Regions from separate parts of the Homo sapiens genome. Here region 2 is linked to region 1. Evidence: promoter capture Hi-C in human tissues and cell types (Jung and others, 2019). All regions are on one chromosome and are shown on one strand. The core of a region is centred on a gene start or on the middle of the fragment in contact, and the rest is flanking DNA. Distances in the headings are between cores, read along the strand shown.

The links. Contacts are between HindIII fragments. The study calls those that stand out against the background at their distance.
Region 2: a contact is called between a fragment that was not itself captured here and the fragment with the promoter of NMT1 in region 1, in 2 of the 25 tissues and cell types used here (IMR-90 fibroblasts and mesenchymal stem cells).

The regions. Positions count from the first base shown.
Region 1 is chr17:45,058,772-45,065,576 of GRCh38, reverse strand. NMT1 (N-myristoyltransferase 1) reads right to left here and starts at 4,260. Exons shown (of 12, transcript NM_021079.5): 1 at 4,117-4,260. The coding sequence starts at 4,247. It also overlaps a transcript of DCAKD not described here. RefSeq lists enhancers at 3,820-3,899, 3,842-4,136, 3,990-4,349, 3,497-4,488, 4,450-4,629 and 1 more. The HindIII fragment of the contact is 5,390 bases long and covers 1,529-6,805 here.
Region 2 is chr17:45,302,159-45,308,626 of GRCh38, reverse strand. The region is part of intron 1 of MAP3K14 (mitogen-activated protein kinase kinase kinase 14); the gene reads left to right. Among named protein-coding and RNA genes, the nearest start is that of MAP3K14, 12 kb to the left of the region's middle. RefSeq lists enhancers at 776-915, 5,649-5,698. The HindIII fragment of the contact is 4,981 bases long and covers 1-4,023 here.

The DNA.
Region 1 (6,805 bases), core at 3,011-5,510:
TCTCGGCTCACTGCAAGCTCCGCCTCACAGGGTCACACCATTCTCCTGCCTCAGCCTCCCGAGTAGCTGGGACTACAGGCATGCGCCACCACACCTGGCTAATTTTTTGTATTTTTATTAGAGATGGGGTTTCACTGTGTTAGCCAGGATGGTCTCGATCTCCTGACCTCATGATCCCGCCCGCCTTAGCCTCCCAAAGTGCTGGGATTACAGGTGTGAGCCACCATGCCCTGCCTCTGTAGGTATTTCATAAAAACTGTAGTGAGGCTTACAATGAGAATTATTTGGGGAGAGAAAATGTGTATGTAAGAAAAATCTGACATCCTCTCACTTGGTGAGGGGAGATGAAACTCCACTAATACTGGGCTAGGCACTTTAATATCTGCCATTCATTCATACAGCAAATACTCATTAATGCCCACTAAGTGCTAGGCATTTCGAAGACACAATCCTGTTTACATGCTCCTTACTGTCAGATGAGACAGGTACCAGACACATTAAGAAAAATTACCAAACATGTAGTTATATTTATTGTTATTATAACTATTGTTACGATAAAAGCTACAATACAGTATGTGATAAGAGCAGAGGGGCAAGCTGGGAGGTTAGGGACGATCTGAAGAAAGAGGAGGAGGGAGGAAAAGGAGTGCATTCCAGATGTTATCTCATTAATCCCTACAACTCTGAGTTAAGTACCTTTCCCAAGGTCACAGGACTGTTAAGTGTCAGAGCCAAGCTTTGAGATGAGATTTTGAGATCAGAGGCTTGCTCTGTCGCCCAGGCTGGAGTGCACTGGAGAGATCTCAGCTCAGTGCAACCTCTGCCTCCTGTTTTCAAGTGATTCTCCTGCCTCAGCCTCCTAAGTAGCTAGGATTACAGGCGCCTGCCATCATGCCCAGCTAATTTTTGTATTTTTAGTAGAGATGAGGTTTCACTATGCTGGCCAGGCTGGTCTCAAACTCCTGACCACAAGCGATCTGCCCACCTCAGCCTCCCAAAGTGCTGGGATTACAGATGTGCGCCACCGCGCCTGGCCTCAGACCAGATTTAAATTATTCCAAAGTCCATGCTTTTCTACTGTGCCGTGCTGCATTTTCCCACATTGCTGCTTCTCCCCAAAACCATTTCCTCTCAAAGTTCATGGAAAAATGTTGACTCTACCCCAGATTCTTAGTGCCAGAATTAGACTCTCTCCTCCAGACTAGGCCCTTGGTTTTTCACCTACTACCTCCAAACTCATTTTCACAGATCTTTAGATTTGGGACGCTAATAAACATAATTTTTTCACCCAGACCATAACCATGCACAGAGACACCACTGCAAACTGTCAAAGTTTTTAAGGTTATCACTTACTTCTACTACAAATAAAATAATTTTATTTATTTATTTTTTTGAGATGGAGTCTCGCTCCGTTGCCAAGCTGGTGTGCAGTGGCGCAATCTCAGCTCACTGCAACCTCCGCCTCCCGGGTTCGAGTGATTCTCCTGCCTCAGCCTCCCGAGTAGCTGGGACTACAGGTATGCACCACCATGCCCAGCTAATTTTTCTATTTTTAATAGAGACAGGGTTTCACCATGTTAGCCAGGATGGTCTCAATCTCTTGACCTCGTGATCCACCCGCCTCGGCCTCCCAGAGTGATGGGATTACAGGCATGAGCCACTGTGTGCCACTTTTTTTTCTGAGACAGGGCTTTGCTCTATTGCCCAGGCTGGAGTGCAGTGGTGCAATCTCAACTCACTGCAGCCTCCACCTCCCAGGTTCAAGTGATTCTCCTGCCTCAGTCTCCGGAGTAGCTGGGACTATAGGCGTACGCCACCATGCCCAGCTAAATTTTGTATTTTTAGTGGAGACGGGGTTTCACCATGTTGGCCATGCTGTTCTCGAACTGCTGACCTCAAGTGATCCACCTGCCTCGGCCTCCCAAAGTGCTGGGATTACAGGTGTGAGCTACCACGCCAGGCCAATAAAATAACTTTCTGGCACACAGTTTTGAAAAGTGATTCACAGATTATAGGGCACAAACCTAAGGACACTGGTCAGGACAACAGTTAAGAAGATAAAAATAAAAGCAACTACAAAAAGAGCAAAGAAAATGCCACACTTTCACTTCTGGAATGACTTTCACATTCACCAACTCTCATCTGTGATTCAGATCTCTACTCAGGAGAGCTTCACTTTCCCTTCTTCCTGTTCCTACTTCCTCTTTCTCAGCTCTTCCATTTTTAGGAATATCAAACTTCAAAAGAAGACTTTTATTACATTAGATCTGTTGTGAGTTACAGCAACAGAACAGTCTTATAAAAACTAAATTTGGCAAGCTTCCTATTCCTCTACTTTCTTCCTGTGATTTTTTTTTTTTTTTTTTTTTTTTGAGTCGGAGTCTCGCTCTGTCGCCCAGGCTGGAGTGCAGTGGCGTGATCTCAGCTCACTGCAAGCTCTGCCTCCTGGGTTCACGCCATTCTCCTGCCTTAGCCTCCCGAGTAGTTGGGACTACAGGCGCCCGCCACCACGCCCGGCTAAATTTTTTGTATTTTTAGTAGAGATGGGATTTCACAGTGTTAGCCAGGATGGTCTCGATCTCCTGACCTCGTGATCTGCCTCCCAAAGTACTGGGATTACAGGCATGAGCCACCATGCCCGGCCCTTCCTGTGATTTTTAATGCCGGCTGAAGAACATAAAAGCTAGATCTTTTAACCTAAGATTTACCACAAGCAGATTATAAACCACTTAAATACAGTCATGCTTCACTGAACGTCAGGCATATGTGCTGGGAAATGCATGGTTAGGTGATTTTTGCCTTGCCAACATTATAGGGTGTACTTACACAAATCTAGATGGTATAGCCTACTAAATGCCTAGGCTATATGGTGTACATTACAGTAACATGCTATACAGGTTTGTAGCCTAGGAGCAATAGGCTGCTGCATGTTACTGAGTACTGCAGGCAACTATAATACAATGGTAAGTATTTGTGTATCTAAGCATACCTAAACATAGAAAGGATACAATAAAAATATGTACTATAATCTTGTGGGACCATCTCTTCTACGCAGTCCTTGGTCTTTATACCTTTATATCTGCACTGCCACCAATACTGCGAATAACAAGCTGGCTACGAAAATCAGACTACCTCAGACTCAGCAAGTTATACACCCAAAAATCTCTCACGACTTTCAGTTTAAAAATATATCTACAAATATAGACAGGAAGATGGGGAGAGACAGCGTGAGTGCCAGTGCCAGGCACTAACCATGTGAAGAAAGATGAATAAGCTGTGGCTTACAGAAGTAAAAACTAATTTGGGAAAAGAATTCAACATTCAAATGCCTGGTGTGTTTCTTCATCCCTAGGAACAAATAGTAACTAATGGCAAGACCCTAAAGTACAGGATAGGCAGTATGGAGCCCGAGGATTCCAAATACTCTCCAAGAAACAACATCGCTCATTTCTTGAAGCCTGGGGCTGCTCTGCAAAGGTAACAAGGCAAAGATGTTCGAAGACTTAATTATATTAATATATCGTTCAGGATACTTATGGATTATTTGGAGCAATGGAAACTATGTAAATCAAAGCATTACCATACCGTTAATTACATAGGTTTATAAGGTGAGTTTATATTTTGGGATTCTCTGGTAGTGATATTTTACAATATAATTATACATACAGTTTGTATAGTCTGATGAGTTTCCTCACTGAGGGTGAACTGCTGCGAAATGTTTTATGATTCGTTTATTGCTAGTCACGTTGTTCAAACAACACGTCTATAAGTAACGTTCCCTTTGAACTGTACTGTTACTAGACTGTCCTGTGTTGTACCATCGAAAACCATCGTCCAACATGCTCTTTTCCCAGGAATGGCCTGAAGCACACGAGTGGAACACTGCATAGAACTTTTATATAATAAAAGTACTGAACGTCTCCGGCCCTTAATATCCAGAGCACCCACCCTTGGTAAATGACAAAGGCAATAACCAATCGCCAGGCAGAATCCTAGTGACTTAGCCAATAAGAACATGAGGGTGGGGCTAGACTAAGCTCCCGGTGACTTCCCCGCACCCCAGAGACCCAGGTTGTGGGAGGCTGGACGGGAATTGGACTCCGAGGATTTCGTTACCCCCGGTTGTAGCTGTTGTCCTCCTCATTCTCGCAATCGCTGCAGTGCTCATGGCCGTTCCCGTTCCCTTCCATCATCTGCGGCAGCGGAGGTGCCGGCGGCTTCACTGCTGTCTCACTCTCGTCCGCCATCTTGAGTTGCGAGAGCAGGGCTCCGCGCCCCACTACATGGGGGGTTCCTATTGGACAAGGGGAATTTGCGCTGCATTCTGGGTTTTGTAGTTTTTCTGGCGAAGCGAGCTGCCACTAGGAGCGACTCTTTCCCAGGAAACTGACTACAATACCCAGGAATCACGAGGGACGGCTCCGGTCGGATTAAGAGGCGGGGCCACTGATACCCGGAAGCCTAGGCATTCGGCCACGCTTTGAGGAAAGAAGGGGCGCAAGGTTGGTGGGACCGACCCTTGGGAACCGGGCGGCCGCCTGGCATGATGGGAGTTGTAGTTCGATGCTGGTTTAGGGTTTCAGGCGTGGAGGTTCCAAAATCCGAGGTTTGATTTCAGCCTGCCCTTGCCAGTGCCTGGGCCGCTGGGAGCCGTTATTGGCTGCCGTTAAGGACCGTTACGTTTCCCGGGTAAGTGAAAGGGCCTGAGGCCCGCGGGTGCTACCTGCCTGGAGCCGGAATGCCCCAGGCCTTCTTAGAGTGGGCTTTTCCGCAAGAAGCCTAGTTGACTCCTGGCCGCCTTCCTCACTCGGGAGTCTGGGCAACCTGCGGTCATTGGCAGTTCAAGGTCTCATGAGAGGCAGTGGATTTTTTTGTGCGAAGCACTGACCCTAAGCCAGGAGACCACACTGCTAGGGAGGCAGGGCTCGCCGCCTCATCTTGGCCTCCAGGTACTTATCTTCGCCAAGCTCTTTCGCGCACACGTGGTCCCTTTAATTCCCCACAAGAATTTTCCACAACGACCCTTTTTTTCTTTTCTTTTCTTTCTTTCTTTCTTTTTTCTTTTTTAAATACGGCCGCCTTCTGTCGCCCAGGCTGGAGCGCAATGGCTCAAGATCACAGCTCACTGCAATCAAGGTATCCTCCCACCTCAGCCTCCCAAGTACCTAGGACTATAGGCATGAGCCACCACACCCGGATAATTTATATATTTTTTGTAGAGACGAGGGTCTCGCCTTGTTGCCCAGGCTGGTCTCGAACTCCTGGCCTCTAAGGATCTTCCTACCCCAACCCCGCAAAGTGCTGGGATTACAGACGTGAGCCACGGCACCCAGCCCACATCAACTCTTTCTTTAATAAGTGCCAGACTCTGTAGTAAGGCATTTCGTACATTATCTCATTTAATCCTCTCAACAAGTCTACAATATAGGTCCTATTATTATTATTCAACCTTTGTTTTGTTTTGTTTTGTTTTGAGACGGAGTCTCTCTCTGACTCCCAGGCTGGAGTGCAGTGGTGCGATCTCGGCTCACTGCAACCTTCGCCTCCTGGGTTCAAGCGATTCTCTTGCCTCGGCCTCCTGAGTAGCTGGGATTAAAGGCGCACGCCACCACACCTGGCTAATTTTTGTATTTTTAGTAGAGACGGGGTTTCACCATGTTGGTCAGGCTGGTCTCGAACTCCTGACCTCGTGATCTGCCCATTTCGGCCTCCCAAAGTGCTGGGATTAGAGGTGTGAGCCACCGTACCTGGCCATATTGACCTTTTTGACAGATGAAAAAATGTGGCCCTGAGAGGTTGGTAAATTGCACAGTCACATAGCTGGTTAAGTGGCAAATCGGTATACAAATCCAGATCTGTGTGCCCCAGGCCCTCTGAATTCTTTGCCACCATAAAAGTCCCATTTTCTGATACACTATTCACTCAAGGAAATCAGTTACTAAAAGGTAACTGTGACTCCAGTGCGTATTCTATATCAGGGGAAAAAAGGTAACTGCCACATTTTAATCTGTTTTTAACCTTGATTGAATGTTTCAGTCCCTGAGTCTCACTCTTTTGATTGAGTAATCTCGCCTAAGTGCCCAAAGACATGGTTCCCATTCTTGGAAATTTCCTATTCGGGTTGAGTGTGGTGGGTGATGAGAGGACTAATTCTTACCATCAGAGTGCTCCATGGCCAAAAAGGGAAATGATCTTTGCCTTTGGGAAAGATCTCAACATGGGAAGAATGGCAGGGCGGGAAGAAACAGTTCCCATCTGACTCAGGGAAAGAAAACACAAATAAAACACAGAACTAAATATAGTCAACTCTTTCTTTCTTTTTTTTTTCTGAGACGGAGTCTCGCTCTCTTGCTCTGTCGCCCAGGCTGGATTGCAGTGGCGCGATTTTGGCTCACTGCAAGCTCTGCCTCCCGGGTTCACGCCATTCTCCTACCTCAGCCTCCCAAGTAGCTGGGACTACAGGTGCCCGCCACCTCACCCGGCTAATTTTTTGTATTTTTAGTAGAGACGGGGTTTCACCGTGTTAGCCAGGGTGGGCTCGATCTCCTGACCTCGTGATCTGCCCGCCTCGGCCTCCCAAAGTGCTGGGATTACAGGCGTGAGCCACCGCGCCCGGCCAACTCAACTCTGTTTTTATATCAATGGCATAAGCATAAGTAATTATGATCCAAAGCAGCAGATAATCCTCAGTCATTTATATTTGACTTTGGAAGGCAGTCAAAGATGCCCACTCAGTCTGAGAGCTGTCACCACACTCAACTCTCCGGGGTCTAAGACTGCTGTTCAACGCGATTGCCCTATTTGC
Region 2 (6,468 bases), core at 284-2,783, 250 kb before region 1:
GAGGCTGAGGTGGGATGATCACTTGAGCTCAGGAGTTCGAGGCTGTAGTAAGCTATGGTTGTACCACTGCATTCCAGCCTGGGTGACAGAACAAGTCCTCTTCTCAAAAAAGAAAATATAGTTCAAAGTAGAATCAGACAGTGAGTAGCCAGCTAATAAACACATAACTGACCACCTCCCACCCCTCCAAGTGAGAATTGGGAGGGCAGTGACCACACTGGCACATCCCATAGGCTTGGTGCCACTAGAGAGTTGTAGGCAGGTAGATCAAGGCAGTGCTTCTAGGTAACTGGGTTCAGCATTCCAAGAAGGCCTTTCAAGGGTTTCAACAGAGAAGGCTCTTGGTCATCCTCATATTCCTGCTGGCCAGCACGGTGCCTGAAACATGGTAGCCACTGATTAAATATTTGCTGTTGAGTGAAAGTACAAGACTTGAATCCAAACTCCTCCCGCTAAGCCCTGCTGGCCTCGGGGAGGACGAGAGAGCCGTGGGCTGTTTCATGATTTACCCTCTTTTACCAAAGAATCGTGTGAGATCCTCTGAGAATATTCCTCATCATGCCCCATGTCCCAAGCCCTTTTTTACCTTCCCAAGGGAGGACAAGAATATGACCCCTCATTATAAAGGGACCCCTCTGCCACTCATGTCCTCAAGCTGGTTACTTGGTCCAGCTTGTCAAAGAGCATGTGGGGCAGCATCTGAAATGAGGCCAGGGTCAAGGTTGCCCCGCCACAGGGCGGAGCTGGACCTGTGCCTCCTTCCATGCATTGGAAGCCTTCTGTGGAAGCTGAGTTCTTTGGGTTTCTTGTTTATTCTGAAGTTCCTCAAACTAGTTCCTCAATTTCAGAACCAGTCACCAGTGACTACAATGAACTTGAATTCTCCTATACAGGGAGCCTGAGCCTGTCTTTCTTCATCTTTTCTGAACACAGGTAGACGCTGCTTGAAGCCACTCCCACCTCTGAAAACCAGATTTCTAAACCCAGAAAGGAGCGGTGGGTGGTTGTATTTCAGCGAGATTGACCGTAGCCTAGGGAACTTCTTGCTCAGAATCCACCCCAAAAGGTTAAATAAGGAGAGTTGTTTTTCACAACCAAAATGCTGCTTGTAACGATGATCTCAAAGCTTGGCAAGATCACAAAGTACGTTTTGAGTCATCAAAGAAACTGGCTGTGTTTCACATGATTTTAGTGTCAAGGGCAATTATGGCCATCTAATCTTTGGAAATTGGTCATGTTAAGTGGCATACAGGGCAGCCCCCACTTAATCAGAATATTCAGTTACACAAAATACCCTAAGTTGCTGATTTCGATGACACTTGAAATTTTTTTAATTAATTAATTAATTAATTTTTTTTTTTAATTTTTTGAGACAGAGTCTCACTCTGTTGCCTAGGTTGGAGTGCAGTGGCACAATCTCGGCTCACTGCAACCTCCACCTCCCGGGTTCAAGCGATTCTTGTGCCTCAGCCTCCCGAGTAGCTGGGATTACAGGCACCCACCACCACACCCAGCTAATTTTTGTATTTCTAGTGGAGGCAGCGTTTTGCCATGTTGGCCAGGCTGGTCTCGATCTCACAACCTCAGGCAGTCCGCCCGCCTGGGCCTCCCAATGTGCTAGGATTACAGGTGTGAGCCACCACTCCCGGCCTGAAAAATTTTTTATACAATATACATTAAACATTCCTTGTTGCTTATTGTATAAAATTAAGTACACGTGTGACAGGTTTTTATCTCAATACTACCTTGCCCGACATGTTCTCCTGCATATTGGGTCTTTGTGGATCCATGATGCCCCCTGTGGCGTCTTTTCTATTTGCTGTTGGCTCTCCTTGTGCAAAGGATTTGAAGGTTGAATTGAAAATACCATTGTAATACTTCTCTTTTAAAGCTTATAAAATGCCCTGTATCAGGGCCTGGGGGCAAAAGTACTGATGAAATTTATGAAGATAGCAAATGATGCTCGAGTCTTTGTTATAAAAAGAATGGTAAATAGGTTCAAGAAGCCTGCAGCCAGGCTTTGTAAAGTGAATGGCAAATTTGCATTTGTCATAGAATTTCTCCTTGGAATGGGCCTGGCTATGTCAGGCCTGGGTGGGCTGAGGAACACAGGCCCACCACAAGTCCAGCTTGGAGTCTTTCTTCCCTGTTGTCATTTTAAAGTTGCTTTTTCCAGAACATAGGCTGGCTGTAGTTCATGCTTCCTAATTAAGGTGCTTCCTCCCAGGCCAGTCCCTGAATTTCTCACTAACCTTTGACTTGTGACAGCTTCTGCATCTCGGTCCCAATTTTTAAAGCTTAGATCATTTGGGAGTAGGAAGAGTGTCATGGTTAAGAGTATGGGCTTTGACATAAAAGTCTCTTGTGCAAATCCTGCCGCTGCCACTTCACTGCTGTGTGGCCTTGGGCAAATTACTTGGCCTACTGAGGCCCAGTTTCTTCCTCCTTGTAAACGGATAACATTAGTGCCTTGCTCACAGAGTTGTGAGGATTCAAGAAAAAAATGCACGCATTACCTAATACATGGCAGATAATAATAGCTGTCATTATTATTCATTTGTATGATTACCAACAACCAGCATGTAGTTATGTGTATACAAATAGCAGATTGTTGTAACACTCAAAGATGACCACAGGACAACTAATTTCAGCTTTAGCTGCCAAGGAATTGTGGGTCCCAGTTCATCACGCAGAGCTGAGGCACTGCCAGTGGACACAGAAGCCAGATGGGGTGTGCAGAATGCTCTTCAAAGAACATCTTCATGGGTTCTTGCCGACCACTCTGTCCCTCTGCTTTCAGGATTGTCCTCCTCCTGCTTTGACCACATCTGTTCCAGACTTTCTGTCTGATGCTAGGGCTGCTGGCTAGAAGCTGTGGGAGGTAGGCTTCAGTGCCTTATAGCAGCAACTTTGAAGCAACTTAACACTTATAGACCATGACTCACATCTGTAATCCTAGCACTTTGGGAGGCTGAGGTGGGCAGATCACTTGAGGCCAGGAGTTTGAGATCAGCCTGGCCAAGATGGCACAATCCCATTTCTACAAAAAAATAAATAAATGAAATTAGCCATGCGTGGTGGTACATGCCTGTAATCCCAGCCACTTGGGTGGCTGAGGCATAAGAATCGCTTGAATTCGGGAGGTGGAGGTTGCAGTGAGCCAAGATCACACCACTGCACTCCAGCCTGGGTGACAGCAAGACTCTGTCTCACAAAAAAAAAAAAAAAAACGGCCGGGCGCTGTGGCTCACGCCTGTAATCCCAGCACTTTGGGAGGCCGAGGCAGGTGGATCACGAGGTCAGGAGATCGAGACCATCCTGGCTAACATGGTGAAATCCTGTCTCTACTAAAAATACAAAAAATTAGCTGAGCGTGGTGGCGGGTGCCTGTAGTCCCGCTACTCAGGAGGCTGAGGCTGGAGAATGGTGTAAACCCGGCAGGCAGAGCTTGCAGTGAGCCGAGATTGCGTCACTGCACTCCAGCCTGGGCGACAGAGCAAGACTCCGTCTCAAAAAATAAAAAAAATAAAAAAACATAAAACCAAAAAAAATCTTACACTTCCAGTCATACAAAGGTCTGACTGCTCATCTTGTAGCGGCTTCCATCTCACTGGAGGTTCCACTGATGTTTCCAGAGTGCCCACTGCATGCCAGGCACTGTGCTATGTAATTTAAACTTTGTTCCTTGCATTGAGTCACCGTGTAAAATTCTATCATGTAGGTTTGAGGATCCCTATATTACAGATAAGACTCCTGAGTCTCAGATTATGTGACCTGCCCATGGTCACACACCAGAGTATTGAGAAACTAAGATTCAAACTCAGATCTTCTGACTCCAAGGCCATCCTGTCATGTAGCTGAATGGCCATTCCTCAGGATTAGTAAGTAATATGTTGGAAGAAATTACCTCTGAGGGTCTTTCTGATCCTAAGAGCACTTTGATTATTCCTTTATGATTTATTTATCCATCTACCCATTTTTTCCCCATCTAGACTATAGGCATGTTGAAAGCAAGGATAGCATCTTCACAGCAAATAAATAATACAATGTTTGGAAACCACCTATCTGATGCTATCTACTTCTCTGACACATAGAAACAGGAGAAAAGATATAACCCATTAACAAAAGAGTCACCCAGAAATTCCAATCCCAAGAGCTTACCACCTAGAATTCCTTCTACATGTACACATAAATGTGAATAAGGGTAGAGTTTTTTCCATTATTACGTATAAGTGAAAAATTGGAAACAAAGTTTCCAGGTGGGAAAATGATGATACATCTGTACCTTCCAATCTTATGAAGCCTTAAAAAGAATGAATTAGAGGTCAACCATGGTGGCTCACACCTGTAATCCCAGTACTTTGGGAGGCCAAGGCGGGTGGATTGTTTGAGGTCAGGAGTTCAAGACCAGCCTGACCAACATGGTGAAACCCCGTCTCTACTAAAAATACAAAAATTAGCCGGATGTGGTGGCTGACGCCTGTAACTCGGAAGGTTGAGGCAGGAGGATCACTTGAACTCGGGAGACGGAGGTTGCAGTGAGCCAAGAATGGGCTGCTGCGCTCCAGCCTGGGCGACAGAGCGAGACTCCGTCTCAAAAAAAAAAAAAAAAAAAAGAAAAGAAAAGAAATAAATCTAAATGTGCTGAGATGGAATAGTATTCATAGTATCTTAAGTGAAAGATACAATTTGTATGACATTACATGTGTATAATCCATGTTTCTTTTAAAAATAGTCCCAAACTAGGCCAGGCACGGTGGCTCACGCCTGTAATCCCAGCACTTTGGGAGGCCGAGGCGGCTGGATCACGAGGTCAGGAGATCAAGACCATCCTAGCTAACACGGTGAAACCCCGTCTCTACTAAAAATACAAAAAAAAAAAAAAGTCCCAAACTATATGTTTATATATGTATAGTAATTGGAACTAGAAGGATTTACATGAAACTTAAGTGTTTTTTATGTTGCAGAGAGGACGGGACGGTGCCGGGATTTTTTTTCTATATACAATTTTGTTTTGTTTACATTTTTACAATGAACAATTATTTTGGTATTGGAAAAAAATTTTTGAGATGGAGTCTCACTCTGTTGCCCAAGCTGGGGTGCAGTGGTGCAATCTCGGCTCATTACAACCTCTACCTCCTGGGCTCAAGTGATTCTCCTGCGTTAGCCTCCAAAGTAGCTGGGATTACAGGTGCCCACCACCACACCCAGCTAATTTTTGTATTTTTAGTAGAGACGAGATTTCCCCATGTTGGCCAGGCTGGTCTTGAACTCCTGACCTCAAGTGATCCACCCACCTCGGCCTCCCAAGGTGATGGGATTACAGTCATGAGCCACTGCACCTGGCCTGAAAAAAAATTTTTAAGCAAGGTTAAAGATCACATATAAGAAAGGCAGGAGAGGCTAGCTAGGAAAACTGTCCTCCCTTGGGTTTCCCAGACTAGGACTAACCCTGCGATTCCCACCCCTTTGCGCAAGCAGTGGAGGAAGGGCTGGTTTTTTTCTCCCTGGTCCACTTCTGCTGTTTTTCACTCTGGGGGGCCACTCTTGCCCAGGGGCATGTGGTCCATCCAGCACTAGCACGGGCCTGTAACCACGCATGCATTTGCCATTCGATAAATCAAAGCAGGAAACAGTCCGCATCTTCTGAGCACCTTCCTATTTCTTGAGTCACAACTGATAAAACTCTCAGTCCTCAGCAGAGAACAAGGGAGGGAATGAAATGAAAACCAAAACCAGGAAGGACAAGCTTGCCCATCTCCAGCCTTCTGTTTTGCGGCCCAGCTGCCAGAACTCAGTGAGCAGAACAGAAGAGCCACAGACTTTCTGGTGAAGTTTCCTGCCCACACATGGGTTTGTGCTTGCATGTGTGTGCATGTGCGCGCACACGGTTGGAGAAACCAGCTCATCACATATTTATAAAGCCCCAATCTCAAGTGTGGACCTAATGCTTCCTAAATTCTCATCCCATGCCAAGAGATTCTTTTTTAGTTGTTTTCATGATTAAAAAGTAATACTTGGCCGGGCACAGTGGCTCATGCCTGTAATCGCAGCACTTTGGGAGGCCAAGGCAGGCAGATCACTTGAGGTCAGGAGTTTGAGACCAGCCTGGCCAACATGGTGAAACCCGGTCTCTACTAAAAATAGAAAAATTAGCCGGGTGTGGTGGCAGGCGCCTGTAATCCCAGCTGCTCAGGAGGCTGAGGCAGGAGAATTTCTTGAACCCAAGAGGCGGAAGTTGCAGTAAGCCAAGATCGCACCGTTGCACTCCAGCCTGGGCAATAGAGTGAGACTCCATCTCATAAAAATAATAACAATAATAAAAATGAATAAAAGTAATACCTACAGAGAAAATCAGTAGAGGGAGATACAAGAAACTGTTAACGGGGATCCCCTTATAGGAATGGAGGGAAGGACTCATGCTTTTCAATGGCACCCCTTCTGTATTTTTTTTTTTAACCACTTAGA